Regions from separate parts of the Homo sapiens genome. Here region 2 is linked to region 1. The links are contacts of gene promoters, found by promoter capture Hi-C in human tissues and cell types (Jung and others, 2019). All regions are on one chromosome and are shown on one strand. Each heading gives the region's core, a stretch centred on a gene start or on the middle of the fragment in contact. The rest is flanking DNA. Distances are from core to core; before and after follow the strand shown. Region 1 holds the start of DDIT4L (DNA damage inducible transcript 4 like). Region 2 has its middle 46 kb from the start of EMCN.

Evidence for each region. Contacts are between HindIII fragments. The study calls those that stand out against the background at their distance.
Region 2: a contact is called between a fragment that was not itself captured here and the fragment with the promoter of DDIT4L in region 1, in 1 of the 25 tissues and cell types used here (hippocampus).

The regions. Positions count from the first base shown.
Region 1 is chr4:100,188,850-100,192,208 of GRCh38, reverse strand. It overlaps DDIT4L (DNA damage inducible transcript 4 like), which reads left to right and starts at 1,741. Exons shown (of 3, transcript NM_145244.4): 1 at 1,741-1,906; 2 at 2,177-2,316. The coding sequence starts at 2,226. It overlaps DDIT4L-AS1 (DDIT4L antisense RNA 1), which reads right to left and starts at 2,176. Exons shown (of 5, transcript NR_125924.1): 1 at 2,135-2,176. The HindIII fragment of the contact is 5,141 bases long and covers 1-3,359 here.
Region 2 is chr4:100,562,098-100,565,456 of GRCh38, reverse strand. No RefSeq gene overlaps it. Among named protein-coding and RNA genes, the nearest start is that of EMCN, 46 kb to the right of the region's middle. The HindIII fragment of the contact is 4,523 bases long and covers 1-3,359 here.

The DNA of each region.
Region 1 (3,359 bases), core at 492-2,991:
ATTGAAACGAGTAATTTCTTTATTTCGCTAGTATTGGTTCAGACCACTCATTATATTAATTCTAAAAATCCTCCTTGGAGGCAGGTTAAGTGGCAGCCTCATTAGTAATGCTGCCCAGACAAGGACAAGAGGCTCTGTGGCCTGCCCAGGGACTGACTGTCAGGCGGCTGGCATCCAACTCCTGACCATGGGCCCATCCATTGGTCCTGAACACCCTAGCCACTGAAACCGCTTTTTAATTGGCTTAAATGGGCTTGTTTATTTTCCACTTTTCTGTTTATTGAAGTAGAAGTGGAAACTGGCCTTCAAAGACCAGTCTATCAGCATCTCCTTCCTTGGCTCGCCTGACCTTCAGGCAGTGCAGCTGCCTGAACTGAGTTAAAAATGGACTGTCAAGCTGGCTTTAATTTCTGCTGCTCTGCGTCCGAATGTCCTCCCACTGATCTGTTTATCACACCCTCTATACCCCTTCTGTTGTTGTTTTTCTAAGAGTTTTATGCCAGGACAGCTGAAACTGCCTTTCAAGGTTCTAACCTGCAAATCCTTCTACACATAATCCTAGAGGGCCTGGGAGCCAACACTGGGATCTCTACTGTAGGAACAACCTTCTCCCTCCAGGCATCCCCTAACGCACCCCAAGCTGACTCTCTGAACAGATCATCTCCTACTGGCACACCAAAGCGAGAAAACCGTGGCTTAATAACTTTGGAAGAAAAAAATCAGGTTTGGCTTCTTGCTCATGGGCTATGCGGGCATGTTGCCTCTTTCCAGGGCTCCTCTGCCTCTCTGTGTGTTCCTGTGCAGGACCGCACGGAGCCCTCACAGGGATTATCTGCTGATCCCCAGCAGAATATAAAACTCTTTATCTTCAGTCTCTGAAACCTCTTCAAAATATCCCAAACCAAAGATCCTCCCAACAGGGCTCGCCAGAAACTTCTGCCTCCGGAAATGACAGTTGCTCTCGATGCACGGATAGAGGAGTACCTAAGATCCTACTAATGGTATTGTGTGTTTCTTGGCAAACTCCCGCTCAATTCAAGCTCCCCGCGCTCTGGGGCAAGGTCTAATTAGAAGAGTGCCAGGCTCACCCTTCCTGCGAAGAAAACGCATTAGCCACAGATGTAAGTGCACGAAGAATGCCAGGGAGCCACGGAGTGCGTGGGGTCATTAAGGCCCTTCTTAAAATGCTGGCGAGCCTTCGATGCGGGAAAGGAAAACTAGATCTGACCGCTTGCAGCAGAGGAGGATACAGAAACCCTGGGAGGCAGAGTAGAGTTGACTGGGTTAGAGGCCAGAAATAAGTGCATAAATGATGCTCAGTGGACGTTGCAACAGATTTAAGCCAAGTGTTCAGGATGACACAGCAAAGCCCCAGGACAAGGAAATGCACAGATCGCTTAAAGCTTCCCGCTGCCGGGAGCAGCCTGAGTGTGAAAGCGCGGACGCTCGGGGAGGGGTCGCACTGAACAATCAGGTTCAGGCTTTGACGAGTCGTGCACCCGGAATTGCGGTCCCAGTGGCCCGAGATCTACCCTGGAAGCAACAGGTGTCCGCTCTACCACAGGCTTATCCTCAACTCCCTGTGGCTAGGCTCGGGCTCCCTGGAAGTGTAGAGGTTGAAAGGGGACCAGACTCTGGAGGGGAGGGGCGGGGCGCTGGCCGGGGAGGGGCGGTGCAGGTGGGCGGGCCTGAGCAGGGTGGGGACTGGACCTATAAAGTTCTCGCTGCCCCGGAGGCTATGCTACTGCGAGGAGCCGGCGCAGGGTGGCCCGGGAGGGGTGAGCAGGGTGCCGCTGGCTGCTGGGGTCTGCAGGTCACCGAGTCCCCAGGAGAGGGGACTCCTAAGAAGCCACCTGCCTGTGTTTACCCGGCAGCGAGCGCGCAGGCCCCCGCGAACTCCTGGCAGGTGAGCGAAGCTGCGGCCTTGGTGGGGGCAGCGGGGCCGGGGGGCGCTCCGCGGGGCAGGTCGCTTCCAAGTTTTGCGAACTGTTGAGTTAGTTTCAGGTTGCGGCTCCGCTCCCAGGGCTTTGTCAAATTGAGTTGCAGAGGCCGGTTCCACCCCTTTGGCAAAGGAGTTCCTCCGCTAGTTCGCTCCCGGGACGCCGGGCATTTTAGGAGCCTCTGCACGACTCGCCTGCTTTTGCAAATCCGTCTCTTCTCGCCTCATTTTTTCCAGCGCTCAGGAAAGGCCGTTGCGCCTCGCGAAGGAAACAGAGCCGTTGACCATGGTTGCAACTGGCAGTTTGAGCAGCAAGAACCCGGCCAGCATTTCAGAATTGCTGGACTGTGGCTATCACCCAGAGAGCCTGCTAAGTGGTGAGTGTCCCCGCTGTCCACCCTTCTCCCCTCCCAAGGTCGGTGCCTCTGGATCTATTGGGTGGGCGGGCTTTCGACTTCCTCCCCTACCTCTATGTAGGAGGTGCCACAAAATCCATCTGAGGAGACTCCTTTCCAAATTTTCTAACATCTTCTCTCCATGATAGAAACAAAAGTAGCAAAAGTAGAATACCCGAGGGCTGCATCTTTCTAGTCTGGTGCCAGTAGGCCCCTTGGGATTAAGTTCCTTATCTTACATGATTGTGAAGAACACAGTTATGTGTGTTTTAGCAAATGTATTTACCCTGTAATCAATATCGCCCCTCCCCCTGAATTCCGACGCACCTATTTGCCAGGTATTCCTCACTCTCCCCTGACTCCAGGGAACTACTGATCTGATTTTTATCATTCCAAGTTAGTTTTGCCTTTAGGTAAGTGGAACCATACAGTAGGTATTCTTTTGTGTCTGGTTTCTTTCCCGCAGCCTAATGTTTTTGAGATTCTTTTATGTCCGTTGCTTAAATCAGTGTGTTCGTGTTTATTGTTTATTACTGAGTAGGATTTTCAGTCGTGGATATATCCATTATTCCATTTTTAATGTGAGAAGGAAACTGTTGAACAGCAGCGGTGCTTGACTTGCTGTCATTTGGAATTTTAACAGCAGTTTCTAGGTGAACACACTGCTCTGACACTAAAGAGCTGTAAGAGCATAGATAAACTGCTTAAGCTCTTCGTGTTTTTCTCCTTTCAAGGTGAAGTGGTTGATGACCTAATTTACAGGCCAGAACTCCAAACTTACACGAAGTGGAGAGGAAAAGCCAGTGGCTGATGAAGGTGGAGTAGGCTTAGAGAGAGGAGCTGGGAGGGCATCTGCCTGCACCTTGTTCATTTGACTCCGTGTGGTGTGGCATCCTGCCAAGGGGTAGGATTAATTTGAGGTGTAGGTGACCAAATGCAGAGCTATCTCTTTTCCTTTGAGCCCAGCTAATTTTATTTCCCTAGGACTATTTTGTTTTGCTTGGCTAAGAAAAACCACCCAGCCG
Region 2 (3,359 bases), core at 268-2,767, 370 kb before region 1:
CCCCTCAAGTCTAGAATATTGACAACTATTGATGAGCAAGAATGGTAAAAGCAGGAGAGTACTGTCTTGCACACACAATTTTGCCACCCTTTCTAATCAGCTCAGTTCTTTAAATAAAGATTTCTATTGCATTGTCATAGTGTAGCCAAGAGCTCTATCTACAAAGTCTCAGTAATACATGAGACATTGTACACCTCCTTCTACTATAATGTCAAGTTCATCATGTTGGACACCCTTACCTTGATGGACAAACATCTCATAAAACAAATGTTACTCATGGTTTTTCTTACTATTATTTTATCCTGAAAATTAGTGGGGACCATTTTTAACACTGTTCTGCCATACTTCTTATAACTCACTGGACCCAGTTTTTTTCAGTGCATTATCTTTCTGGAATTAAAAATTCAGCTTAAAACAGTGATTAGCTTAGGTGTTTTTGTTGTTGCTGTTGTAAGAATAAAGCATACACCATCTACTGGAAGACACGTCAGAGTAGACAGACTGTAGTAACAATATCAGTGGCTAAACATGATAAAAGTTTATTTTCTTTTCATAGCACAAAGTCAGCAGACAGAGATCTCTATTTCCTGCAATCATTCAGGGATCCAGGCTACTTGGATCAAGAGGACTCTCCATTCCTAAGGGCCTTGGAGTCCTCAACTGGATCATCCAGTTGAGGTCAATAGACAGGTGAATATGCCAGGTCAATAGACAAGTGAAAAGAAAGAGCTTTCGAAGCTCTGCTTTTAATCATATCAGCCCAGACACATATTAATTCTCATATTCCATTGGAGAGAATGCATCACAAGGTCCCAAATGAAAGGGGGGTCTGTTGTAATTTAGCAGTGTGCCAAGACAAATAAAACCTGGATATTAATGAAAATACTGGGCAGTCTCTGCTACAGCAGAATCCCATATTTCTACTACCATAAACTACTATTTTGTGAGCTAAGTAGTTCTCTCACTTTCTGTATTTTTTGCTACCATCCACATAATCCATCGTATGTATCATTTCTTCTTCTTTTCCCTTTCAAATAGAAGGTATTTTTAAAAATCTTAGCTCAGAAATCTTTTATTTTTTTATTTTTCCATAAGTTATTGGGGTACAGGTGGTATTTGGTTACATGAGTAAGTTCTTTAGTGCTGATAGAGATTTTGGTGCACCCATCATCCATGTATACACTGCACCATATTTATAGTCTTTTATCCCTTGCCCCCCTCCCACTCTTTCCTCCGAGTCCCCAAAGTCCATTGTATCATTCTTATGCCTTTGCGTCCTCATAGGTTAGTTCCCACATATCAGTAAGAACATATGATGTTTGGTTTTCCATTCCTGACTTATTTCACTTAGAATAATGTTCTCCAATCTCATCCAGGTCACTGCAAATGCTGTTAATTCATTCCTTTTTATGGCTGTGTAGTATTCTACCATATATACTCAGAGTTTCTTTATCTACTCGTTGATTGATGGGCATTTGGGTTGGTTCCACGATTCTGCAATTGTGAATTGTGCTGCTATATACATGCATGTGCAAGTATCTTTTTCGAATAATGACTTATTTTCCTCTGGGTAGATACCCAGTAGTGAGGTTGCTGGATCTAACTGTAGTTCTACTTTTAGTTCTTTAAGGAATCTCCACACTGTTTTCCATAGTGGCTGTACTAGTTCACATTCCCACCAGCAGTGTAGAAGTGTTCCCTGATCACCGTGTCCAAGACAATGTGTACTGTTTTTGATTTTTTTGATTATGGCCATTCTTGCAGGAGTAAGGTGGTATCACATTGTTGATTTGATTTGCATTTCCTGGTCATTAGTGATGTTGAGCATTTTTTCATATGTTTGTTGGCCACTTGTATATCTTCTTTTAAAAATTGTCTATTCATGTCCTTAGCCCACTTTTTTACAGGATTATGTCTTTTTATCTTACTGATTTGTTTGAGTTCATTGTAGAGATTCTGGATATTAGTCATTTGTCAGAAGTATAGATTGTGAAGATTTTCTCCCACTCTGTGGGTTGTCTGTTTACTCTGCTGACTGTTCATTTTGCCATGCAAAAGCTCTTTAGTTTACATCCCAGCTATTTATTTATTTTTTTTAATTGCATTTGGTTTTGGGTTCTTGGTCATGAAATTCTTGCCTAAGCCAATGTCTAGAATGGTTTTTCCAATGTTATCTTCTAGAATTTTTATAGTTTCAGGTCTTAGGTTTAAGTCCTTAATCCATCTTGAGTTTATTTTTGTATAAGGTGAGAGATGGGGATCCAGTTCATTCTCCTACATGTGGTTAGCCAATTCACCTTTTGTTGAAAAGGGTGTCCACTCCCCATTTTATGTTTTTGTTTGCTTTGTTGAAGATTCATTGGCTATAAGTATTAGGGTTTATTTCTGGGTTCCCTATTTTGTTCCATTGTCTGCATGCCTACTTTTATACCAGTAACATGCTGTTTCAGTGACTATGGCCTTATAGTATAGTTTGAAATTAGGTCGTGTGATGCCTCCAGATTTGTTCTTGATTTGGCTATGTGGGCTTTTTTTTGGTTTCATATGAATTTTAGAATTGTTTTTTCTAATTCCATGAAGAATGGTGATGGTATTCTGATGGGGATTGTGTTGAATTTATAGATTGCTTTTGGCAGTTGGTTATTTTTACAATATTGATTCTACCCATCCATGAGCATGGGATGTGTTTCCATTTGTTTGTGTTGTCTATGATTTCTTTCAGCAGTGTTTTCTACTTTTCCTTGCAGAGGTCTTTCAACTCCTTTGTTAGGTATATTCCTAAGTATTTTTATTTTTATTTTTATTTTTGCAGCTATTGTAAAAGGAGTTGAGTTCTTGATTTGATTCTTTGTTTAGTCGCTGCTGGTGTATAGAAGAACTACTGATTTGTGTACATTAATCTGGAAACTTTGCTGAATTCTTTTATCAGTTCTAGGAGCTTTCTGGAGGAGTCCTTAGGGTTTTCAAGGTAAACAATCATATTGTTAGCAAACAGTGATAGTTTGACTTCCTCCTTACCGATTTAGATGCCCTTTATTTCTTTCTCCTTTTTGATTGCTTTGGCTAGGACTTCCAGTCTATGTCGAAGAGGAGTGGTAAGAGTGGGCATCCTTGTCTTGTTCCGGTTCTTAGAGGGAATGCTTTCAACTTTTCCCTATTCAGTATTACATTGGCTGTGGGTTTGTCATAGATGGCTTTTATTACATTAAGGTATATCCCTTGTATGCCGATTTTTGCTGAGAGTTTTAATCATAAAGCGATGCTGGATTTTGTCAGATGCTTTTTCTGCATCTATTGAGATGATCATGTGATTTTGTTTTTAATTCTGTTTATGTGGTGTATCACATTTATTGACTTGC